Regions from separate parts of the Homo sapiens genome. Here regions 1, 3, 4, 5, 6 and 7 are each linked to region 2. The links are contacts of gene promoters, found by promoter capture Hi-C in blood cells and fetal thymus (Javierre and others, 2016). All regions are on one chromosome and are shown on one strand. The core of a region is centred on a gene start or on the middle of the fragment in contact, and the rest is flanking DNA. Distances in the headings are between cores, read along the strand shown.

The links. The method cuts DNA at HindIII sites, captures the fragments that hold promoters and counts their contacts. A CHiCAGO score of 5 or more calls a contact.
Region 1: a fragment that was not itself captured here is called in contact with the fragment with the promoter of SLC38A1 in region 2 in 1 of 17 cell types (fetal thymus); the score reaches 5.4 in fetal thymus.
Region 3: a contact is called between a fragment that was not itself captured here and the fragment with the promoter of SLC38A1 in region 2, in 5 of 17 cell types (endothelial precursors, megakaryocytes, naive B cells and 2 more). The highest score is 8.4, in endothelial precursors.
Region 4: a contact is called between a fragment that was not itself captured here and the fragment with the promoter of SLC38A1 in region 2, in 1 of 17 cell types (naive CD8 T cells). The highest score is 5.7, in naive CD8 T cells.
Region 5: a fragment that was not itself captured here is called in contact with the fragment with the promoter of SLC38A1 in region 2 in 2 of 17 cell types (M1 macrophages and endothelial precursors); the score reaches 6.3 in M1 macrophages.
Region 6: a contact is called between a fragment that was not itself captured here and the fragment with the promoter of SLC38A1 in region 2, in 1 of 17 cell types (total CD8 T cells). The highest score is 5.1, in total CD8 T cells.
Region 7: a contact is called between a fragment that was not itself captured here and the fragment with the promoter of SLC38A1 in region 2, in 1 of 17 cell types (M0 macrophages). The highest score is 5.3, in M0 macrophages.

What each region holds. Positions count from the first base shown.
Region 1 is chr12:46,811,791-46,815,268 of GRCh38, forward strand. All of the region lies in intron 1 of SLC38A4 (solute carrier family 38 member 4), which reads right to left. Among named protein-coding and RNA genes, the nearest start is that of SLC38A4, 12 kb to the right of the region's middle. The HindIII fragment of the contact is 3,257 bases long and covers 39-3,295 here.
Region 2 is chr12:46,266,542-46,270,292 of GRCh38, forward strand. It overlaps SLC38A1 (solute carrier family 38 member 1), which reads right to left and starts at 2,502. Exons shown (of 17, transcript NM_030674.4): 1 at 1,985-2,502. LOC105378248 (a long non-coding RNA gene) reads left to right here and starts at 2,530. Exons shown (of 2, transcript XR_001749101.1): 1 at 2,530-2,617. RefSeq lists enhancers at 1-976, 1,902-1,961, 1,960-2,942, 2,082-2,131, 2,182-2,281 and silencers at 2,692-2,871, 2,952-3,051. The HindIII fragment of the contact is 4,151 bases long and covers 149-3,751 here.
Region 3 is chr12:47,021,983-47,025,599 of GRCh38, forward strand. No RefSeq gene overlaps it. Among named protein-coding and RNA genes, the nearest start is that of PCED1B, 56 kb to the right of the region's middle. The HindIII fragment of the contact is 1,022 bases long and covers 1,347-2,368 here.
Region 4 is chr12:47,210,995-47,214,634 of GRCh38, forward strand. All of the region lies in intron 2 of PCED1B (PC-esterase domain containing 1B), which reads left to right. All of the region lies in intron 2 of PCED1B-AS1 (PCED1B antisense RNA 1), which reads right to left. Among named protein-coding and RNA genes, the nearest start is that of PCED1B-AS1, 3.6 kb to the right of the region's middle. The HindIII fragment of the contact is 8,343 bases long and covers 1-3,640 here.
Region 5 is chr12:46,948,481-46,951,973 of GRCh38, forward strand. It overlaps LOC124902924 (a long non-coding RNA gene), which reads left to right. Exons shown (of 2, transcript XR_007063285.1): 2 at 1-748. Among named protein-coding and RNA genes, the nearest start is that of SLC38A4, 120 kb to the left of the region's middle. The HindIII fragment of the contact is 6,570 bases long and covers 1-3,493 here.
Region 6 is chr12:47,193,620-47,197,290 of GRCh38, forward strand. All of the region lies in intron 2 of PCED1B (PC-esterase domain containing 1B), which reads left to right. Among named protein-coding and RNA genes, the nearest start is that of MIR4698, 7.6 kb to the left of the region's middle. The HindIII fragment of the contact is 1,782 bases long and covers 999-2,780 here.
Region 7 is chr12:46,928,544-46,932,305 of GRCh38, forward strand. No RefSeq gene overlaps it. Among named protein-coding and RNA genes, the nearest start is that of SLC38A4, 100 kb to the left of the region's middle. The HindIII fragment of the contact is 9,619 bases long and covers 1-3,762 here.

The sequences.
Region 1 (3,478 bases), core at 417-2,916, 540 kb after region 2:
GGACCATCAGGATTATTGTATTAGGCTAAGAACAGAAAAGCTTAGGTTCATGAAGTATTTTGCTTCAAATGATGTAAACTATGTCAAAAAAAAAGCTAATTGCAAGTCTTACAGGAGTTGAATATTTAACTATAGAAATCCTGACTCTTCCTTCCTAGATATTTGAAGTTGATTTTTTAAGTTAGACTCTGAATTTCAACATATTTCAACTTGTCTTAATTATTTTAAAATCCACCTAAGTGAAGATCAATGCTTAAGTTAATTATATATGAGCAATTTTCCAGTAATATTAATTAATATCTTAATTTGCAAGCATTTATATTCCTTAATTATTTCTTAATAGGGTCTAGTATAGTGTTACAAGTAACAGTTGAAAGACTGATATGTGCTTATTTGGATGGGTAATCTGATTTTTACATGTGAATAAGATAATCATATTGACTTAAATAGTTTTGCTTGCATCTTTTCTTTCTCTTTAAATTAAAGGCTGATGGCATTTCCTTTGATGTTTGCTTAAGACTTTTAGCATTAGCTTTTTCTGAGGAATCCTGAGAGGAGCTTCACTGTTTTTGTCTTGAAACTGTCTGTTCATCCCTTTTTATCTACATGAGAAGTCTTCTGACACCCTATTGATCTGAATGTCTGAACATGTTCTCTTCTGTTATGCTAACACTCAGTGCTGGACTTTGATTCAGAAGATCTGGGTTCTAATTCTGACTCCATAAATTACTAGCTGTGCTATCAACAACTTGGCAAACTGTATGAGCTTTTTTCTCATTTATAAAATAGTATATAGTTCCTAGGGTGACAATAGAACTATTGGTGGCAGCAGAAAAAATGTACACATTCTTTTATTTTAGTAAATTAAAGCAAGGAATTTTACAAACCTAAAATAAACTATAAACATGACTGGAGTTCAAACTAGCCAAATTTCTTTCTCCCTGTGGAACTCTTTTTTGCCATTGTTTGGATTAAAAACCTTAACAATGTCAATAAGTAGTAATTACACTTAAAAAGGGGTCAGAGAAATATCAAAGTGGTCATCCAAAAGAAATGTTGGGCATAAAATTCTGACATGTCGATATGAAATCTCAATTCTGAATGTTTCAATTTCACTAATTCTCCTCAGCAAAATTTTCACTAAATGTGAATTGGAATGAGCTGTCTTTAGTATTTTTTTAATTCCCTTTCCTGTTTTTAATCAATTAGTCAATTAACCAATTATTCCATCAGTGAGTAATCTTTGAATATCTATTATGCACCCAGAATGGTTGACATCAGTGTCTCTATGTCTTTTGGCTTTCCTTCTGCTTCCTCACATTGGCCCTGTTTTATTCTGACTGACCATAAGCCTTAAGATAACCTGGGAGAGTTACAGCTGAACTGATATTCACAAGAGTTCTGTTGACATATACATATGTACATTAATTTATTAATTATATGTTATATAAACAAAGAGATCTGCATACCTATATCTATGTCTGTATTTATATTTATTACAAAGCACAGTCCTTTATTTTCTGTTCAAATGAGCTCAGCTTTCATCCTGTGTTCAGATGCTATGTTCCTCTAAGTTCGTTATTGTTTTCTCGCTGTAAATCCGAACTCTTTTTCTCAAATATGGATCTGCCCAGTGAAATGGAGAACACATTGACTCTGGAGTTCAAACTCAAGGATTCGGATCCAATCCCCACTCTGCTGCCTAGGAGCTGAGAGACCTTAGATAAGTCAAGTTAACCCCTTCCTCCTTCGTGCTGTCTGTGCCTCTTGCAAGCCTCACTGTTGAGCTTAAGGGTTGCACTGTAACATATTTGTTTACATGCCTGCCCTTCTAGACTCTGAAGTCTTCAAACACAGATACTGTGTCTTATTCAGCACAGCACAGAGTCAAATAGTAGATTCTGGAGCTCCACTGCCTAGACTTAAATCCGACTTCTGTCTTTTATCCTGTCTGACTTTGGGCAAGTTATTTGCCATTTCTGTGCCTCAGTTTCCGCATCTACAAGAAGGAGATAATAATAGTGCCTACCTCACAGTGCTGTTATGAGGATTAAGTAAGTTAATATTTGTAGAGCATTGAGAAGAGCATCTGGCACATAGTGAACATTTGTGAGCATTTGTTATACATGCATATTTAAAGAATTGTCTCTGACTTCAATACCTAATATGATACCGATTTAATAAGTCTTTTTTGAATAAGTAAAGTCATGCAAATATTCCGGAACTCAGTTTTCTCTTTAATACTGGGTCTAATGAAAACTTAGACAAGGTTATTGTGAGGGTTAAATGATGTATTGGATATACAGCATTATAAACATACAAGGTATTTCTATTGTTCTTTTTTATAAAAGTGAAATGACATTAGCAAAATAGATTATAGAATTAAATTAGCTTCAACACTTTTTGCTTTGAAAGTGTATTGTTACTGTGTATTAGACTATTATTTCACTTGTTATACTATTGGTTGGCACTGGGGAAAAGGTGAAAAATGTGAGGATTTGACCCTGACCCCTGGAATCTCAGAAAACAACCTCATAACAAGGCACAGTTTGCAATATGTGTTTGTTTAATATTAACCAACCTGTGAAGCTGAACAGCCCCATGGTACATATTTACCCCTGAACCTGTCATCAGCGCCAGTGTTTAAACATGCAAGTGTACTGGCAGATTTGGGGGGTTGGTTGGCTTTGCTTTGGGTTAATCTTTTTTGTGAGATTGATAAAACATGAAGACCCAAAGATGTACCACGACACACTTTCCAAATGCTAAAGTAAGTGACCTACATTTCACTCACACTGTACCATTTGATGTTGCTGAGCATTTTAGTACTAATTGCCAAAACAGCCACACAGTTTTGGTCTAATCACATTCAGTAGAATCAAATATAAGACGTTTTTAATCATTATGAATCAGTGCATGGATTAGCTGGCAGCAAGAATGGATGACTGGCTCTCTTTGAGGCAGTTTCTTGATCAAACAAGACAACATGCTTGTCTTGGACAAGATACATGGGAATCTCCCATCTTTACATCTCTTAAATTCAAGGCAGTCTTGCAAGCATGCATACATGCTACTTCTCATTAATTTGAGGTTAACCTGGCTAAGATTGCTTAGAATTTGAGCTGAAGACTAAAAGGCTGTGGTGTCAAATACTTTATTAGGTCCAGTTTCACTCATTCTTTGAGATTTAGAAATGAGGAGTTTTATTCATTTCAGTGTGGAGAAATAGATCACGTACCATGGCTTTGTGGCATGAGTTTTCACCTAAAATGCTTAAAAAACAATTTTCTTCCAAAGCTTTGCATTATCTCATGTAATCACAGTTATTCTATGTTATGGTTGCTAAAATTATTTGAGAATAATTGAATAGAAGATGTATATGAGATAGTATACTGTATTAACTAGATTTTTGGGCAAAATGACTTTTCAAGGATTATAAATGGCTAAAGGATATATATATATATATATATATATATAT
Region 2 (3,751 bases), core at 1,252-3,751:
TATACCCTCACACCGCCCCTCCCGGTGAGTCACTCTATTTCAAGCATCCTCCCCCATCACATGATCCTGTTTTATTTCTTCATTGCACTAAGAATACCTGAAATGTATATGCCTACATTTATATAGTCTATTTCCCCCTGAGAACGGAAGCTTCATAGAAGGTGAAACAAATCTTGTTAGTTGCTGCCAGTCGCACAGTAAGCCCTCTGTAGAAAATGTTTATTGGCCACATTTTTTTAAAAAGCGAATAAACCTCAAGATTAAGACCTCAAACCAAACTATTCCAGTTTCCAATTGCTTACAGCGACATACTGAGAAATCGAGTGACTCTCAAGAGAAAGGCCATTTTGAGGCTGGGGTCGAACCAAAATCCAGGGGGTCCACACCAGGTCAGTACCCCGGAATTGGCTGTTTTGCAAGATTTCGGGAGTACCAAATTGGCATGAGACATTTGACAACGAGGCCAGCCATGCACCGAGCTCAGGTTTTATTTCCGTTGTCCTTCTGACGTCAGAAAAAGCACGAGTTGCTGCACAGTTTCTTTTATCAAGGTGACAAATTACACCCTCGCTGGGCCCTGCATTCTGCAAACCATAAATTTATTTTCCTCCTCCCCCTTATATTGAAAAATGTAAAAACCCACTGCAGAGAGGTCAAAACCCCTTCCAAACGCAAATAAATACCGTTTTCTAGCAGAGGCGTCTTTTTTCACTTTTGCTACACACATCACCGCGGATTCGTCCGAGAAAGTACGTGATCCTGGCGGCAGTTAGGTTTCTAACAGAGAACGAGGGTTTGTACAAACCCCGGGTCCGCGCCGCAGAGCAAGACAAAGGACTCTGAATTGTAGCACCACCTTCCCCAGCCCAAGGCAGCCTGTGAAAGGCACTGGGAGCGGCGTGACGCGGGTACCGCGAAATTCCTTTTGCTGCCATATGCACTTGTGCCTTCTCTAACTACAGTTCAGCACAAACCTCAGGCGGGCGATTTGGCAGGCAAACGGTGCCCAGGCAGCCGGGTAACCTACTGGGTCCCAGTGGGTGCTGGGGAGCCCCATGCGCCAGGAGGTGGATAATTTAGGGGGCAAGGGGCTCGCACAAGGGCGAAGATGCGCTCTCCTCCCGGCACCGACCCACGCGTTTAAAGGCCTCTGCGGCAACGTTTAGGGACGCGAACTAGGTGCCGGGGGTTGGGGAGGAGGTGGGACTGGAAGCGAGAGCAGTCTGCGCCCAAGACCGCGCAAGAGGTGGCCTTTTGTTCGCTGGCTCCAGCACATCCCGGCTCTCGAAAAAACACTACCTCTGTCCCCTGCCACCCTCTGCATTTTAGAAAATCCTCTTCAGGGCAGGAAAGGACAGTGAGTCACTGCAAGCATCCTTTAGTAATTTCTCCCCGCGCCCTCCTACTTCCCCGCGTTACAGAGGGGCAGAGCACCAGGAAGGACGGCAAACATGCCCCGGTTTAGTGGTGGTCCGCGGCCGCTACCCAGCCGGCCGCACGCAGCACCCCCCGGACATCACACGATCTCCTCTGGGCCTTGCGGACACAGGAAATTTTCACCAAAGGCCGGGGATTCAAACACTCCCAGAACACGGTCGCGCCCTCGGGTCAGCTGCGCTCTCCCTCCAGACGTGCGTGGTTCCTGGCTCTCGTAAAAATGGAACCAGATCTGGTACCACACTCTGCCACAGCCACAGGAAAACACACCAAAGTCACAGGAAAACAAACCAAAAAGTAAGCCACAGCCCACGCAAAGGTGAACTCGGGGGCCCTGGCGCTTCCTCCCGCTGCCGCGTGCGTTCGGGAAGCACAGGAGACCTGGACTTTTCCTCTCCTAAAAGCAACATCCGAAAGCATCGGGCACAGCCGAGCTCTCTCTGCTTTCACGCCCGCAGAGATGATTTCTACGTTACCTCCTCCTCCGACATCTAAATCTCCCCTTGCCGCTCGCCCAGCCCTCCCCGGGAACGGATAATCACCTTACCTCCGGAAATAAAGGGAAAGGTGGCAAAAGGCGATGTGGAGGTGTCCGCCCTTCCGGGGTTTTTACCCTCGGCAGTTTGATGTCCTTTGTGTCAAGGTCTGGCTGCGGAGGCCGGGAAAATGTGGCCCCCGTCAGTAAGGGTTGGGCAGGGAGCTTGGCGTGGCCTGGCGGATTTCGGAGGAAGGTGAAGGGCGGAGGCTCCTGGCGACCTTCTGGCGGAGTGGCGTGGCCGCCCCAGTCCGCGCTCGCCTGGCTCTCCTCCTTTCCGGGCCGATTGCATCAGAATCTCCCCTCACCACCAACCCCCACTCACACTCTGCTCGCCGGCCTCGCACTTACATCGACATGCACCGGCGCTGAGGGTCACGAATCGGAGTCATTCTCCTACTGGGGGACGCGTGGCCCTTCCGCAACCATGGCTTGTGATGGTTTAACGCGGACAGGCCATTCCTCCCCGTCCCGCGCGCGGTCTCCTCCCCTCCTGTGCGCCCGCTCTTTAACCAAAGCTGCGTGTCAGTGAGCCGTGCCGGTCACATGGTGTCACTGCTGGCGGCCGCACCTTGCTGCCTCCCTCTTGCAGCTCTCTGACGATGCAGCGACCGCGGCTGGCGGAGATTGAGCAACGGGGAAAGGGTGAGGGAGGGGTTGCGGGGCGCGCGTGTGCCCGGCGCACTGAAGCTGGCACCGGGAGCAGAGGCTGCGCGCCGCCCTGGCACCTGCCCCTCTCCCTCCCGGGGCCCGGCGGCGTGTTCGGAACCCAGCTGCGGCTGCAGCTGGAGAATGAGAGCCCTTAGGGATGGGGGTGGGGCGGCTAAAGGGGCACCGGCGGAGGACAGGAGGGCTGTGCGTTCCGCTGGGGCCTGCATTTTGGGTACGCCAGAGCCCCGCCGGGGCCGAAGGAGCGAGGGAGTTGCATTGTGGGAAGGGCGCAGCATGAGGATGGCCGCGGGAGTGGCAGGTCCGAGCGCAGCCCGGAGAGCCGCGGGCAGCGCCTGGGACTACGGGCAGCGTTGGAGCGGAGGGCTGGCCCTGGGCACAGCCTGCAGATGGCCCGGGTTGGCGGGAAGGGGACCGAAGTGGCAGGGGCGGCGGGGAGCTCGGGCACCTTTAAAAACCCTTTGTCCCTAACCTGAAGCGGGAGGCACCTCCCCTCTTCCGGATCCAGCACCCGCAGACCTGGTCAGCCCTTCCTGAGATCTGCCCTGTGGAGCTCTGCTTTGGGGACTGGGTGTGAGGTGAACCAGAAGGATTTGCTGAGCACCGAGAAAGCACCGGCCTAGGCGCAAAGAGCCGGGGGCCAGCTCTTGGAGGGCCTGGAGACCCCACGTGGTCCCGACCGAAGGACCTGGTGCGTCCAGGTTAACGGAGCTGGGGCGCTCCAAGTCCGGGGGACGAGGGAGCGGCATGGAGGGGAGCAGGGGCAACTGGGCCTGGTTCCCTTTTTTCCCGCTTACTCTTTGTTTCAGACACAGCCCCCTTTCACTGGCTGGGCACTTGCTTGCAGAGGAGTTGTGTCTTAAAATGGCGACAGGAAATCCCACCTGCGCCTCAGCCAATTAGACTGTCATAGCGCGAATTTGCAGGGTGGAAACGCGAGCTTTTTATTGATAGGGAAGGTTCAGTCTCCTGTTCATGGTTCATCAAAACAGGAAAGGGAAGGTGAATCATAATTCAAAAATTAACTACCTGGAGCGTTTCAAGTAGACAGTAGTCATTGTATTTGGGTGAATTTTGCTTTTTCATCACCACTGGAAAAGCAAGATGATA
Region 3 (3,617 bases), core at 608-3,107, 750 kb after region 2:
CATGATCTTATATATTGCTTTATTCCAATATTAAAGATTGAGAGATAATGATAATGATTTTATCTTTTAGTTATAGAATTGCCTTCAAATGCCTTGTTTTATAATCATCTCAAAGTCAAACAAGAGATTCCTTTAATCGTTACATCATTTTTCATAGGCAAGTAATGAGGGACTGAATGGTTTTGCTGTTGAAGACAGAAGGACAAAAAAGTAAAATCATATTCTCCAAACATATACAGATAGTATTGAAAAGAAGTGTAAGAATTAGTTATTGTTTGTTTGCCCTTGGAAATAACAGTTATTATTCTGTTATTATTTTTAAACATCTATTTTATTTATTATTATTAAAGGAGCAGTTATCACTAATGCAATCATTTCAGAAAAATTTTCTTTAAAGCAAACACAGGAAAACAGAAACAAAAACCACCTCCATTTAATTGAGTTCTTAGTATGTGCCACGTGATTTAAATACTTTACATACTTTTCTTACTTAGTCCTCACACAACCTGATAAAGTTTCATTTTATAAAGGAAGAAACCAGGCTGAGTCATTGAATAACTTATTTTAAGCCACATTGACAGTAAAGGGCAGCTTCTGGATAAAACCTAAGTGTGTCCAATTTTGAAGCCGTGCTTATAAATGTGACAAAAAATACTTTATAACCATGTCAGGAAAACATGCATTGTACCTACTACTCTACAAAGTCTAGCCAAGAGCAGAACTGACATGCATTGTCTTATTTGCCATAGGTAAATCAACAGGAAAGCGAAGTATAAACAGTTAACTCAGACTAGTATATTACCCAGGGTTTTATACTGGTTGATCTGCCATTATTCCAGAGGCAAGACTACAAATCACTTGGATAACATGATCCTGCAATGTCAAGGTAGGTAAATAACTTGTGAGAGTTTTTAAATGATGCCATCACCACTGCAGAAGAGTATATTTACTCCTTCTGCTTTCCTTAAAATGGCTAGCATTAGGCTCTTTATTCAGAAATTTTTATATTATAACATACCTTATCTTATATCATTATCTTCTCCCAACAATCTATTAGGCCAACGTGCTAGATCAGTGATGTTACTTTAAGGCCCTCTCAATCTTTTTTAAAAGTTGTAAACAGACCACTGTGCCACGTAAAGATTAAAGTGTAAAGACTGAGACTTCAAGAATAAATTTTAATGCTGTGATCATATAATATATAAATTTTGCCAAACTACTTTTTGAGCTGCATGCTAATTAAATACAATGCTTAACAACCACTGATACACACACACACACACACACACACACACACACACACACACATAGAACTACTTTTACATAGCTAAACCAAGAAATGGGAAAGCTTGTTACTTTGTTTCTAGATTCCTGGATTCATAATTCAAGGGCATTGTGATAGATCTCCTTTGTTGTTCTTCCTATATCCACCCCTCCCTCCCCAAGCCAATGGAACCTTAAGTTCGTTCAGGTGGCTGCTGAGATCTTTCCCTCTGTCGAGTATTTATGGATGGGTTTAAACCAATCGTGATTCATCCCAGGGCCAGGGATAAATTATGATTGGTCTAAACCAGCCTTAGTAATCTTAGTAATCTTGTAACTTTGTCTGGGAATGAAGTGACAAATTTTGGTCAATGAGATGAAAGCAGAAGTTTTTGAATGAGCCTCCAGGGCTTGTCTTTCTGATTAACACAGATAACATAGAAAAGAACTTTTGTCTTTCTGATTAACATTGATAAACTTACAGAAGACAGCCTTTGCCTTTCTCTTCTCTTCTGCCTGCAATGAAGACATAGTCCCTGGAGGCACAGCAGACATTTGTGACCATAAGATGACAAGCCTGAGGACAAAAGTCAACTTTTATTTTTTGAGACGGAGTCTCATCCTGTGGCCCAGGCTGGAATACAGTGGCATGATCTCGGCTCACTGCAACCACATCCCCGGTTCAAGGGATTCTCATGTCTTAGCTTCCCTAGTAGCTGGGACTACAGGCATGCACCACCATGCCCAGCTAATTTTTGTAATTTTAATAGAGACGGGGTATCACCATGTTGGCCAGGCTGATCTCGAACTCCTGACCTCAGGCGATCTGCCCACCTGCACTTCCCAAAGTGCCAGGATTACAGGCGTGAGCCATCTCACCTGGACAAAAGTCAATTTTCTAAGGATGATGCAACAGGATGATAGGTCTCTGACAGCATCGCTGAGTTCATTGAATAGCTGTATCAGGACGTTTCTTACCTTTGGATTCCTTGCAATGTGACAAAAAGTTTTATTTATATAAGCTATTGTTTGTAGGGGTTTCTGTTACTTGCAGCCTCATGTATTAGGTTGAACCATATGATATGTTGTAAACAAAAATAGTTGAAGCTTAGCAGATTTCTATGATTCAACCAATTTTATGAATTGATGCTGAATTCAAGACCCTTTCACTTCTCCAGCAATCAAAACCTCTCCTTTTCCTCTCTCCTGCCACCTGATACCACACAAAATAGATCTTTATATATATATATTTCTGACATTTAATCAATGATGTGCTGGTAAACTAGTTTGTTAGGAGGAAAAGCCCTGATTTGTACTGTATTTATGGTATAACTACTCCCACTATGTCTCATTTTAAGCTTCCAGCTTGAGGTCACTGAAAAAGGAGTTGGAAAGAAATGCTCGCAATCAGCTCTTCTGAGCTGCTACTACAGCCAGCTCCAGCATGCCACTGCCCACGCATTGGCCAAAGCTCTGTTACAGTGTATGATGGTCAGAGCTAATGTTAGAAAGTAATTTATTATCCTTACTATTATTCTCTTTGTAGCATTGAGACAAAGATACAAGAAAAATATAATATATCCAATAATTATATGATATATATGCTAAGTACATATTATGTACACATAAAATAATTATAAAATACAATAATTATATCATATAATTAGGATATGGGGAAATTGACAAGATAAATGTAGATCTTTGCCCTCTGATTCATTTAGATCTAGTAAAAAAAACTAAAGAAAATGTGTCAGAGTAGCCACCAAGGAGACATAAAATAGTATGAATTTTTACCAACAAAATAACTTATAATTTTGATATAATTATAATTCTACATTATGGCTTTATTATAATTTATAAGAATATATAATTTTACCAACAAATTAATTAATATGAATTTTTACCAACTAGCTCTTCTATTGCCTAACTTTTATCAGTTATCTCTAATGGGTAAGAAAGAAAACCAAGATATCCTTCACTGGTTATTCATTTTTTGAAAAAGCTGTATTCTGTTGCAGTTAAAGAAGATGAAGCATTTGACTTCCATTTGGGACAGTGACCTTTATAAAATACCGCCCTCCCTCCCCCAAACCCTCAGCCCCCAAACTCATTTTCTCTAGCTGTTGAATGCCAAAAATCCATTTAGTTTTCAAACATTGCCTTTTTTCTATTAGTTTTAGGTAGCTGGTCCAAGAAATGATTGAGATTCTTCCCAGTTTAAACTTAAGATGCTTGAATGTACTGCCAGTACCAAATGAAGGTCTCTGCATTCTTCATCACCCTGTGCCCAGTCTCCGTCTTTTATCATCTTCTTTTAACAATCTTAGTAATCCCAAATAAAGTGAAATGGAACA
Region 4 (3,640 bases), core at 1-2,500, 940 kb after region 2:
ATGCAAAGCAAATATTCATCATAAAAGAATATGACTAGAAGCTACTTTTCATGGCGCTATTTTCATTTTCATGTTTTCAGTAGAATTTTAAAAATCCCTTTTCAGTAATAGAAGTGATACTCTAACATAAAGCCATAAATGCACTCCCAACATTGAATTCTAGTTATCTGCTTCTGTGTTTTTCCCTCCCTGCACTGTGAGCTACAGAACATAGAGAAGACCATATCCTACTCAACCTCATATCTCAGGTGCTAAGCACTGTGCCTGACCGAAGGAGCACTCGATGGATGTTTATCTAATAAAGTAAGAAAGGAAGAACAGCACACATCCAAAAATATTAAGCTGTTTCTATCTTCCTTGACAAAACAACCTTATGGCCAGGTGCGGTGACTCACGCCTGTAATCCCAGCACTTTGGGAGGCTGAGGCATGTGGATCACTTGAGGCCAGGAGTTCAAGACCAGCCTGGCCAACATGGTGAAACCCCAACTCTACTTTAAAAAAAAAAAAAGGAGCCAGGTGTAGTGGCACATGGCTATAATCCCAGCTACTCAGGAGGCTGAGGCAGGAGAACTGCTTGAACCTGGGAGGCAGAGGTTGCAATGAGCCAAGATCGCACCACTGCACTCTACTATGGGCAACAGAGTGAGACTCTGTCTCAAAAAAAAAAAAAAAAAAAAAAAACTGGGCGCAGTGGCTCAGGCCTGTAATTCCAGCACTTTGGGAGGCTGAGGCGGGTGGATCACTTGAGCCCAGAAGTTCAAAGCCAGCCTGGGCAACAAGGTAAAACCCAATCTCTCGGCTGGGCACGGTGGCTCACGCCTGTAATCCCAGCACTTTGGGAGGCCGAGGCGGGCGGATCACGAGGTCAGGAGATCGAGACCATCCCGGCTAAAACGGTGAAACCCCGTCTCTACTAAAAATACAAAAAATTAGCCGGGCGTAGTGGCGGGCGCCTGTAGTCCCAGCTACTTGGGAGGCTGAGGCAGGAGAATGGCGTGAACCCGGGAGGCGGAGCTTGCAGTGAGCCGAGATCGTGCCACTGTACTCCAGCCTGGGAGACAGAGCGAGACTCCGTCTCAAAAAAAAAAAAAAAAAAAACCCAATCTCTACCAAAAATACAAAAAACTAGCAGGGCATGGTGGCTCACTCCTGTGGTCCCAGCTACTGGGGGTAGGTGGGAGACTGAGGTGTGAGGATCACTTGAGCCCGGAGGTGGAGGTTTCAGTGAGCTGAGATCATGCCACTGCACTCCAGCATAGGTGACAGAGCAAGAGACTCTGTCTCAAAAAACAAAAAGAAAAAAGGAGAGAGGACCGGAATTGGAAAACTAAGCCTGTGGTTTAAAGGTAAGGGACATTGCTAAATAATGTAAGACCCAGTTCTTGCAGGGCATTAAATTATTCTCTGTAAAAAGAGCTTACAGCCTTAGAGAAAAAAATTCATGAACTATAGCTCTGGAACTATGAGTCCAGGACCCAGGAAGCCTGGTCTTTAGTCCAAGCTCAGTAGTTAACCTGTGTGATTCAGACAGTTGCTCAATCTCCCCGAGCTTCAACTTGACCTAACGATGATTTCTGTCATCTCCCCTCCACTTGCGCAGTCTATTCCTGCAGTGATGGTGTCATACCAGCCCATGGAACAGTGCCCATCAAACAAGGTACTTGTCAGTATTTACGTTTTTTTCCAGTGGTTAGTCATTTAAAGAATTATTTTGCATTACTAAAGCATGGATGCATGTATACTAATCCCTGGAACAAAAATGAGCATTTACTAAGTACCAAGCAGTCTGCTTAGCACTTTGCAGGTTTAAACTTCACAACTGGAAGTGGGCCAGAGGAGTTGAGTACCTTTCCCAAAGTCACACAGCTTGTGGATTATTAATTTGGGACTCTGAACTCAGGCTTTTCTGCCTGCAAAGGCCATGTTCTGAACCACTAGGCTGCATTGGAACAGAATACAGAACTTGCATAAAACATAAGAATTCTAAGAATTTTGTGGAAATGTTTAAGAAATCCTGACAGAATGGGATCTTTTATAAATTCACATTTCTCATTCCATCCATCCTGAATAGTGAAATCACTGATTTGGCTTTTCTCAATCTGTAACATCCCAAATCCCAATAAGTATTGCCTTGTTCATCAACACAAAGTTTGCACATACTTCGTGCAAAATTTAGTTCTGTTACTAAATCGAACTCATGAGAAGTTTTAATCCAGAATCTCAAAGTTCCTAATATGTTATCAGAGAAGATTTCGTACCCTAATAGAAACAAATTATTCATTATTCATATGTGCTTGAAAGTACTAATTGTGAGTGCTTTGAAGAGAAATTATCAAAAATATGTGGACTGTTTAAGTCAGACAACCAAAGAAAAAAACATAGTTTTGTGATTTGCCAAATTTGGCCCATTCGTTTAAGGCAGCCCAGGAATAGATTTAAACACATACACACACGAGCCAGCTGAAATTAATGTATATATATGTATATATTTAATGGGCTGATTTCTGGCCCTCTTATAGGATTCCCAAGAAGATAAGAAAAATAATTGCGTTCCTTAAGATAGAAAATGTGGATAAAATGGTAATGGCTTGCATAAAGCAAAGTTTAAATTTCTCTGTGGCTATAACTACTAATGAGCTGCTAATAGTAAAGGATATCTGTGTGTGAAAGCACATTCACAGGGTAAAACATTATATGTGCATAAGTTGTCATTACTGTTTAAGAAAAAGCCAAGTTTGGTGGGTAAAAAATAAAAGATGGCTCACTGAGCTTTGAAACATGAGATAGGGCCAGAATAGCAATAGTAGCTGTCTACATAGAGCATAATAAGTTCTTGAAAGCAAGAAAATCAGTTGAAAATCTGTTGATCTCAACTTTATTTTAAGTTTAAAGAGTATAAGTGTGATTATCATTTGCATTATTACAGCTCTTCTGTTCTCTGGTCTTGGGATGATTACAGAGATTGTCCTTTTATTCTCACAGTGCACAGACTAGCTGAAATCTACAGAACTAGAAAGATTTGCAATTCATTTATAGAATTGCTAGAACTAAATAATGGCAGATTTTTCAAAGTTATGTAATAGACTACTCTGGATTATAAAATACTAAAGCTATCAGTTGGGTTCTGCCTTGATTCTATTAAATTTCCCGGTAATGACTGTACTAAAACTCATGGGGAACTGCAAGATAACTTTATTGATGGCCATAGAGGATGAAAACAATGCATAAGGTATGGAATTAATTTTAAGCCACACACTGAATAGACAGTGATGTAAAGTAAAATGATATTTTTCAAGGAAAGACAATTATGTCACATTATAATCCAGTTTACATAAATAGCATACTATTAAAAAAAGCTAAGTCTTCAGAGCATGTAATTCAGGACTGTTGTGAAACCTCTTACTCTTGTTGGTTAGTTATTTTGTGCTGTAAGGGAGGGAAAATGGCTTCCTCCCTACTTCTAGGTTCTTTGGCTGGGATACAAATTAAATTGACATAAAACAGATTAACAGGAGAAAAAAACATTTTTGGCCAGGCTCGGTGGCTCATGCCTGTGATCCCAGCACTTTGGGAAGCTGAGGTGGGAGGATCACTTGAGCCCACGAGTTCAAGACCAGCCTGGGCAACATATTGAGACC
Region 5 (3,493 bases), core at 588-3,087, 680 kb after region 2:
ATGAAATTACTCAAGAGAATAGCTTCATAATGCATGAGAAATAAAAATTGGGGTGATTCAAGACATTACAAACTTTATAGTTAATGTTTGTTCAAATTAACTTAAAGGAGGGGGTGGGACCCAGAGAAGGAAGGGGCTCAAGAGAGCTCATAGCTTATTTCTACAAAATAAAGAATTTCCTTGCTGTCTGTGAGCACTTGGCAACTTTAGGTTGAGGACTGTGCTCTGAATTGTCTTCTCATCTCACATCCCTGCCTAACTGTACACTTACATTTTGTCATACAATCCATCTCCACACATTTTCTTCCTTCACCTTTACCCCCACAATCCCTCCAATCCTGCCTGGAGGCTAAAGCAAATGAAATATATCTACTGTTCTGTACATTTAGCTAATAAAAGAACACTGAGTCTCCACATTCAAATTTCCTTGCAATGTTAGATTGCTTGCTCTAGTTTAGCCTATTAACTATGGGCAAAATACCTTGAATATATTTTATTTCTCTATTTTGTGACATTAACATTTGACTTTCAGCTAATCATTTAAATGTGTGGCACCGGAAAACACATCTTCATAATTGCCTCCTTATTTACATTCCTCAGGGCTGAAGCATGGCAATTTGAATGGATGCAGTTTAAGAATTAATATAGATAGACAAAAATGACAGAGGATTGTAAAGAGGCCCCATGGTTTTGGGAGCTATTCCCTGGCAATCCCTTGTGTTTGATTATAAAAAAAAAAAAAATAAAGGCAGATGTTGAGTGCTGTAGGCTATTCTGCATTTATGGAATTTTCCACTAGGTAATAAGCATTCAGGTCACATACACAGTGAGATTTTCTGCAGTGACAGTACAGATAATAAGGCTGTGCAACTTGGTGACAATTTGCTCCATTTAAGCAAACCATCAACTGGTGCATTTTTACAGCAATTGTCTCAGAAGCATGAGAGATGCTTTTGTGTGCATGTTTTAAATATGGATTCATTAGCACCCAAAGAACAATAGGATGCATTCTGAAATGCATCTTAATGAGAAATAAGCATTGATAGGTCTTCTGAGTTCATGTTTCTATACCACTTTTAAGCCATTAATTAATTAATGGTATTTCTTTGGTCAAATTTAGAAGTAAATAAACCTCTTCCCATTTTTCCTCTTTTTTTTTGAGATGGAATTTCACTCTGTGGCCCATGCTGGAGTGCAGTGGCACAATCTTGGCTCACTGCAACCTCCGCCTCCCAGGTTCAAGCAATTCTCCTGCCTCAGCCTCCCAAGTAGCTGGGATTACAAGCATGCACCACCACGCCCAGCTAATTTTTTTGTATTTTTAGTAGAGACAGGGTTTCACCATATTGGCCAGGCTGGTGTCGAACTCCTGACCTTGTGATCTGCCCACCTCAGCCTCCCAAAGTGCTGGGATTACAGGCATGAACCACCGCATCCAGCCCCTCTTCCCATTTTCTAGGAGTGGCTTTCCCAGAGCCAGATAACATAGTTTAAATATCCATTATTTCTACCAACTATTATTGGGTTAGTACAGAAGGTTTAGCATCTCCAACCCATTAAATGAGAAGATGAGAAAGAAAGGGATTATTAAAGCAATCCATTTTTATTTTTTAGTTCGGTGTATAATCTAGAGTCAAGATGAATGATTGTGTACTGTCCATTAATATCTGTGCTTACCACTCCTAGTTGCTAACCATCAATGTCATCTAACCTTTTGTGGCATATCTGTTGGACTTTTAAGTCTTTCTAAAAGATAATCTCCTTGGTATGCAATGTTGCGCTCGTAGAAGTATTCTTTTTCAACCCACTGCATATCAGCAAATCTGCCTTGGGGCTACATGAACATATGGGAACTGGCACAAAAATGCCTGGACTGGTGCAGCAGGAAGTCAGCCACTGCAGGGAAAGGATGGACATAACACTGAAGCTATCAAGCATATTAAAAGTTTCTTGCAATAAACAAGATAAAAAATGTCCAACACAATTACATCCAAAGAAATTTGTGGCAAGTCAGACTACTTCCTGAAAACATGCTTTTGCAAATAAAATTGATATTAAAATTTTACATAAATTTTCAAAGCCAGAACAAGTCTCAGAGAAATGATTGTGTGTGTGTGTGTGTGTGTGCGTGTGTGTGTACACATAGGTTCTCTTTGGAAAGAGAAAGACAGGAGCATGACATTACTGGAAGGAGCTTTAAGGAATATCAGGACACCTGGCTTCTGATCCTTTCTCTAATCTCACTAGTTCTGAGTGTGAACATTCAGATGAGTTCTGTGAGAAGGAACAAGATGCACTGAAGTTACTTCAAGAAAAAGGAGGATCTTCGAGGGGTAAGCATGGATTAGAAATGAGCAAAAACTCAGAAACAGACACAGGCTGATGGATTCATTCTCTCTCTCTCTCTTTTCAGTACCTCCTGGCTTTGGCATCTTAAGTTCTCCTTGCACTTCTGCATCTCCCTCTGCTGTCTACATACCTGCACTGTCCAATACAGGAACCACCAAGCACATGTGGCTATTCAGATGTAAACATACATTAAATAAAATTAAATAAAATTTATTCAGTTCCTCAGTTGCACTTGCTATGTTTCAAGTGCTCAACAGCCAACCTGTGGCCAGTGGATATTGCATTGGAGGACACCAATTATAGAATTTCCGTCATGCGGCCAGGCACAGTGGCTCATGCCTGTAATCCCAGCACTTTGGGAGGCTGAGGTGGGTGGATCACATAAAGCCAGGAGTTCGAGAACAGCCTGGCCAACATGGTGAAAACCCGTCTCTACTAAAAATACAAAAATTAGTTGGGTGTAGTGGTGCTCATCTGTGATCCCAGCTACTCAGGAGGCTGAGGCATGAGAATGCCTTGAATCTGGGAGGGGGAGGTTGCAGTGAGCTGAGGTCGCACCACTGCAATCCAGCCTGTGTGACAAAGCAAGACTGTCTCAAAAAAAGCAAAACAAACAAAAATTTCCATCATCTCAGAATGGCCTGCACTCCATTCTGTGGCCATTTCTCAATAATCCTGCTCTTTGTTTACCTCCACTTTACTGATTAGAAAAGTGAGGCTCAGAAATGCAAAGATTCAGGTCCAAAGTTTACGTAACTAATAAGCAGCAGAACACTCAATCCTCCAAATTAATTACTCAATTGCCTCCAAATTAATTATTTTTAAGCTACTATATCACATTTACTCTAAGTCAGTAACGAGTTTTCTTTCTGTATTAAAAATAAAGAATGAGGCTGGGCGTGGTGGCTAACACCTGTAATCCCAGCACTTTGGGAGGCCGAGGCGGCCAGATCACAAGGTCAGGAGTTCGAGACCAGCCTGACCAACATGGTGAAACCCTTTCTCTACTAAAAATACAAAAATTAGCTGGGCGTGGTGACACATGCCTGTAATCCGAACTACTCAGGAGGCTGAGGTAGGAGAATCACTTGAACCCAAGAAGCGAAGGTTGCAGTGAGCCAAGATTGTACCACTGTACTCCAGC
Region 6 (3,671 bases), core at 640-3,139, 930 kb after region 2:
AGATATACTTCTGCCCACTCAGCCCTGAGTAGCTTCAATCATGGTTCTCTAGTAAGTTAGAATTATATTTTCTCCCCGTGACATAAATTTCAGTATAAGGATCAGCAACATTGCTCCAGTCCTATAAATCATATGAGGCAACCAAATAGTCTCCAAGATTCTAGCTCATTTGCTGTTCATCTGTTTTAAGATTGCATTTCACCAGTTTATTTCAGGGTGTCTGCCATTTTGGCCCCAGTTTTGATAACTGCAGATTGTTGTTATTTTAAAGCCATTTCATTGCTCAGTCTTGCTGGGGCTGGGGCCCTGCCTTGCTCTTGCCCTCACTAAGCTGCATTCTGGTTTCCTGCCTACCTCCCTTGGCTTTGAATAAATACCACATGCTCTTGCTGTGCTTTTGCTGTGCTCTGCCACCTGCAGGGCCCTTGGTCATACTGTGTTGAGACCTCCTTGCAGGAGTGGCCGCTTGCCCTTTGCAGCCAGCATTTTTCAGATAACTTCCCTCCATGCTCCTGAAACACATCTGTCTCCCCACTGCCTGCCTCCTCTCAGGAATAGGTCTTTTTTTATTTTGAGATGGAGTCTCACTCTGTCGCCCAGGCTGGAGTGCAGTGGCACGATCTCAGCTCACTGCAACCTCCACCTGCTGGGTTCAAGTGATTCTCCTGCCTCAGCCTCCTGAATAGCTGGGATTACAGGCGCGCAGCACCACGCCCAGCTAATTTTTGTATTTTTAATAGAGATGGGCTTTCACCATGTTGGTCAGGCTGGTCTCGAACTCCTGACCTCGTGATCCACCTGCCTAGGCCTTCCAAAGTGCTGGGATTACAGGCGTGAGCCACCGCACCTTGCTGGGATGGGTCTCTTTACAGGTACTGGAACTAATTTAGAACCACAAATGTCCCTTTGATAGCTACTTATTGCAAACACAAGAGAAATTTCCTTAGTGTAAAGAAAATCAATCATTTTTGGCAAACTACTTAGACTTTCAACAGTGAAGCTTCTTAGAATATTGAGGTCTCCTGCTCTTCTGGGAACTGTGGGACAAAGTACTCCAGTTAATATCCTCAGATGACCTGCCAACAAGAAAGGTCATACCGGTCGGAGTTCCATGTGCTATTTAAAGAACAGACCTTAGATGGCAGAAGCAGCAATATGTGGCCAGGGTTTTAATGAGGAAGAGAAAGGTGCCGTGTGGCTAAATTCGAGAGTAAATGGCATTGTTGTGTTCAGAAACAGCACTGGCCACTTATCCTGTTTCATAATTCCTCTTCTTTAAAGTTATTATCTTCATTTTGAGTATTGTGAATTATTTATTAGTATTATATATTTAACTTGTTAAATGAAGAAATGTGTTCTTGTATGAGAGGGGGGAAGAAAAGCCTGTTTTAGTCTTTTGGAATTCATCTTTAGAAATATTTCTAAAAGTAGGCCGGGCGCGGTGGCTCACGCCTATAATCCCAGCATTTGGGAGGCGGAGGCGGGTGGATCATGAGGTCAGGAGTTCGAGACCAGCCTGACCAACAAGGCGAAATTCCGTCTCTTCTAAAAATACAAAAATCAGCCGAGCATGGTGGTACACACCTGTAGTCCCAGCTACTCGGGAAGCTGAGACAGGAGAATCACTTAAACCCAAAAGGCGGAGGTTGCAGTGAGCCGAGATCATGCCACTGCACTCCAGCCTGGGCGATGGAGCGAGTCTCTGTCTCAAAAAAAAAAAAAGAAAAAAAGAAATATTTCTGAAGGTGACAGCTAATGTCTCGAGGGAGAAAATGAGGATCATGAGAAAATGAAACAATTTTTCTCCATATTAATTATGTGTACAATCCAAACCTATCTGATAGCTGGTGACTACAAATTTATTCATTTTCCCTCTACCCACCCTCCTTCCTCTGATTATCTTTCTAAATTCACTTAGAGGCAGCAACTACCCAAAAAAAAACCCCACCATAGTAGAGTAGAGGAGGGATGGGTGTTGTATTAAGGAAGGTATAGCCCCTGTAAGTAACATGCTACAGTAAGGGCCAGAAACAAGAAGGTTGCTCACAGCAGCCCCAGTAGAGTTTAATATCAGATATTGAAGTGAGTCAGGAAGATCTAAGAAAATCATACCTGAGTCTACCAGAGTTGTCTGTTCCCACTTTTTTCATTCTTCATTTCCTCACCCTCTATTCACATTTTATGTATAGTTAAATATTCATTATTCATTTTATTATGCCCATGCAGATAGCAGTCAGAACTTAATGTTATAATATACGGGCTATGGTTATGTTTTATTAACCATTTGCTTTTTTCTTGAACTTAATAATTACATTTTTTAAAAACTGCTTAGTTTTCTGGTCTCTATTACAATTCTTCCCACACCTTCCAATATTCTATTAGCCCAATTTTCCAAAGATTAGTCAAACTAGGTGATGCATTAATTTCAGTTCCAAAATAAATGAATTCTTTTAACTTTGCAAAGACTATTACATATAACACTATGTTACAAAATTTGAATATATTGACATTTTTAAAGTAGAGTGTTTATGTGTGTAACTTTTTAAAAATATGTAACCATAAAAAAGTAGGTAAATAATATCAACTTCAACTTAATAGTGCTTTGCTAGGAGGCAGTAGAACTTAGTAGCTAAGTGTCTGGCATTAGAGCAACTAGCTTCAAATCCTGGCTCTGCCACTTACTAGATGTGCCTACCAGAAACAAGATACTCAACCTATTTGTGCCTCAGTTTTCTGATCCATAAAATGGAGATAATAGTACCTAACTCAAGGATTGTTCAAGCTTAACTTAAGTAATACATATAAATCACTATATGTTGCCTGACATACAGTAAATGCTCAGTAAGTTTTAGGTATTATTTAGCACAGTAGCAAAGGAAGAAACAATTTAAAAACACTGAAAAACTTCATCTAAAGTTTATATATGGGCTGGGCACCGTGGCTCACGCCTGTAATCCCAGCACTTTGGGAGGCCGAGGCAGGCAGATCACCTGAGGCCAGGAGTTCGAGACCAGCCTGGCCAACACGGTAAAACCCCGTCTCTACTAAAATTGCAAAAATTATCTGGGCGTGGTGGCGGGCGCCTGTAATCCCAGCTACTCAGGAGTTTGAGGTAGAATTGCTTGAACCCAGGAGACGGAGGTTGCAGTGAGCCAAGATCGTGCCACTGCACTCCAGCCTGGGCAAAAGAGCAAGACTCCATCTTAAAAATTAAAAAATATATAAAAAATAAACTTTATATATGAAAAAATATGAACATAAAATTAACAGAAAAATAATAAGCTGAAATGAAAACATTTGCAGCATGGATGGCAGGCCAAAGTGTTAATACACTTAATATGTAATAATCCTTAGATAAAATAGAAAAGTAGGCAAAGTACACAAATTGGCAGTTTATTTAAAAAAAAAAACAGATGATAGACCAGCCTGACCAACATGGTGAAACCCCATCTCTACTAAAAATATAAAAATTAGCCAGACATGGTGGCGGGCACCTGTAATCCCAGCTACTCAGGAGGTTGAGGCAGGAGAATCACTTGAACTTGGGAGGCGGAGGTTGCAGTGAGCTGAGGTTGCACCACTGCACTCCAGCCTGGGTGACAGAGTGAGACTCTGTCTCAAAAAAAAAAAAAAAAAAAAAAAGATATAAAAACATATCTGCCCTCGCTTGT
Region 7 (3,762 bases), core at 392-2,891, 660 kb after region 2:
TGGGGTCTGGGGATGGTTTCGGGATGAAACTGTTCCACCTCATGTCATCAGGAATTAGATTTTCATAAGGAGCGTTCAACCTAGATCCCTCACATGTGCAGTTCACAATAGGGTTCACACTCATGAGACTGTAATGCTGCTGCTGATCTGACAGGAGGCGGAGCTCAGGCAGTCATGCTCGCTCACCCACCACTCACCTTCTGCTGTGCAGCCCAGTTCCCAACAAGCCACGGACTGGGTACAGGTCTGTGGCAGGAGGGTTGAGGACCCCTGCTTTAGGAAATATACACTGAAATGCCCAATACAATATTTAGAAGTAGTGTCATGTCTTCAACTTACTCTCAAATGTTTCAGAAAACAATATGTGTGTATAGAGAAAAGTATTCTAGAGAGACACAGGGAGAGAGAGAGACAAACACACACACAGAGACAAAGAACATGATAAAGATAGAAAGAAGAATCTGGATGAATTGTATACAGAAATTCTTGATATTTTTTGTAACTTTTTTGTGAGTTTCATATTATTTCAAAATTAAAAGTATTTAAAAAATTTTTTTAAGTACCATTCCCAGAGATTCTAACTTACTTCCTTTGGGATGGTGCCTGGACATCAGGACTTCAAATTCTCCCCAGCTGATTCTTATTTGCAGCCAGGATTGAGAAGCACTGGCCTATACAAACCCTAGTGTCTGGAGATACAGAATTTCTGAGCTACCTATAATGTTTGAAACTAGTTGGAGTAAAGGGCATTGAGGTTGGAGATTTTTTTTTTATCTCTGCACAGAGCAGTTTAACAGGGTCTTAAATACAGATACCTCAAGGGTCCAGCAAGTAACATAAATGTGTAAAGTAAAGCAGTAGATCACAAGATGACAGCAAACTGTAAGGAGAACTTGTCGATTAAAGTCATTTAGTTCAGATTTTAAAAATATACTAAACAATCCCAAATTGGCAGGCCTATATGGGAGAGTAGGTCATCACATTGTAACATCTGGACCTTGAAGAACAGAGAACTATGGTCATAATTTGTAGGCATAGAAATTAGACAGTACTTAGATTCCTCGGAAAATATTACTATTATGGGCCAGACACTATGTTTAGGTATTAGGTTTATATTAAATTTAAGCAAAGTATATGTTTAAAGTAAACTTGGAAATAAGATAATATGCATTTGATAGCTGTTTCTGTTAGGCTAACTTTGGCTGGCTGTAACATAAAATGGCAAGTTAAACTGGTTCAAACAATAAGGTAATTTAACATCTAAGGTGAAGGAAGTCTAGCAGCTTAGCAATGTCCTCAAGATCTGGGTTGTTCCCATCTCCCCATCCATCTTCTTTACTGTTCGCCATTTGCCCTCCAGCTAGCTCCACTTATAGTCCCAAATCAGCTGCAGGAGCTCTAGGCCTCACATCCAGATGTGGCAACATCCAGGAAACAATCTTTTATTGTTTTTATCTCCTAGGAACAAAGAAACCTCTTCCAGAAGCCCCTCAGTAGATTTTCTCTTATGTCCCAATGTCCCAAATTAGGTCACATGTTTATTCCTAAGCTAAGCACTGGAAAGAAAACAGGGTTTCCAGCCTGGGCTTAGACTGAACAGAATCTGCCTAGAGAATGGGGTCACCATCCTCTGTAACTTGAGGGAGGCAGGATTGATATCACTACAAAACTGAGGTGGAGGCACAATGAGTAATCAAACAGTAGACCTCACCATACAAAACTGTTTTTAATCAGATGTTTTTGGAAATTAAGCCAAACTTCCACTTACAACAGCAGACTATGTAAACACTCATTCCTACTACAGAGATCTGCAAATTAAGCAATTTAAAATTGAGAGATGTGGAATGTGGTGGGAAAAAGCACAAGACTGACCAAATTTAGCTTTCAATGACCTTGATCAAGTCGCTTAGTTTTTCTGAACCTCATTTTCACCTTAAAAATATGGATTGGACTGGATGGTTTCTAAGACCACTTTCAACATTAATGGACTGTTAGCCTTCTATCGCTAATAAATACTCTATAAAATAAAGGAGCTAAAGAACTTGGTATTGTGAGAATACCTCTCAAAGTAAATAGTTCTCAACAATACAGACTTGAAATGAGGGAAAGGTGAATGCTTTAAAATAATAATTAGGACTTCTAGTTTTTGGTCCTGCATGTAAGGAGCTTGGACATCATCACTCATCTTGACAAGTAAGAAGCAGAACAAACAGAAAAATGAACAATTTTTACATGTGTCTTCTTGGTCCATCGGAGAAGTGATGTCCCACGGCAAATACCTGCACCAACAACTAAAGAAACAGACAGATTAATACATAAAATCACAACTTACCAAGGCAGAAACCACCTCCAGAACCAGTACTGAGGCAGGAAAACCTAAGTTGTAACAGACAAATTACTGGAGGTTCACTGTGCACAACTCCAGGAGCAGCCCTTGGCAACATGGCAAAACACCATCTCTACAAAAAAATGCAAAAATTAGCTGGATGTGTTGGCACATGTCTGTGGTTCCAGCTAGTTGGGAGGCTGGGGTGGGAGGATAGCTTGAGCCTGGATGGTTGAGGCTGCAGGGAGCTGTGATTGCACCACTGCACTCTAGCCTGACAACAAAATGAGACTCTGTCTTGAAAGAAAGAGAGAAAGAAAACATAATACTATTGGCCAGGCATGGTGGCTCACGCCTGTAATCCCAGCACTTCGGGAGGCTGAGGTGGGCAGATCACGAGGTCAGGAGATCGAAACCATCCTGGCTAATGCAGTGAAACCCCGTCTCTACTAAAAATGCAAAAAAAATTGGCCGGGCGTGGTGGCGGGCACCTGTAGTCCCAGCTACTCTGGAGGCTGAGGGAGGAGAATGGCGTGAAACCGGGAGGCAGAGCTTGCAGTGAGCCGAGATCACGCCACTGCACTCCAGCCTGGGTGACAGAGCAAGACTCCATCTCAAAAAAAAAAAAAAGAAAAAAGAAAGAAAAAACATAATACTATTTACATTAACAGCTCCAAAATTAAATACTTAGATATAAATCTAACTGAATATGTCCAAGATTTATATGAAGAGAACATTGATGAAAGAAATGAAAGAACTAAATAAACGGAGAGGTATTACTGTTCTTTGATGGGAAAATTCAATATTGTCAAAATGGCAGTTCTTTCCAACTTGATCTATAGACACAATGCAATTCCAAAGTTTCAGCATGTTATTTTGTAACTATTGATAAAAAAGATTCTATTTTTTTGGAGATCTAGAATAGTCAACACAATATTGAAGGAGAAAAACAAAGTTAGAGGACTGATGCTATGCAATGTCAGAAATTACCATGAAGCTATAGCAATCAAGGCAGTGTGGTGCTGGTGAAAGAATATGCAAATACATCAGAGAAACAGAATAGAGAGCCCAGAGATATGCCGACATAAATATAGTCAGCTAATCTTTGACAAAAGAGCAAAGGCAATACAATGGAGCAAAGAGTCTTTTCAACAAATGATGCTGGCACAACTGGATGTTCACATGCATAAAAATGAATCTACACCCAGATCTTGCACCCTCACAAAAATGAACTCAAAATGGATCAGAGACACGAAGTAAAATGCAAAATTATAAAACTCCTAGGACATAACATAGGGGAAAATGATGACTTGGGTGTGGTGATATCATTTTAGATACAACACCAAGACACAATCTATAAAAGAAAGAATGAATAAACGGGACTTCATTAAACTAAAAACCTTTGCTCTGTGAAAGACATTGTCAGAAGAATGAAA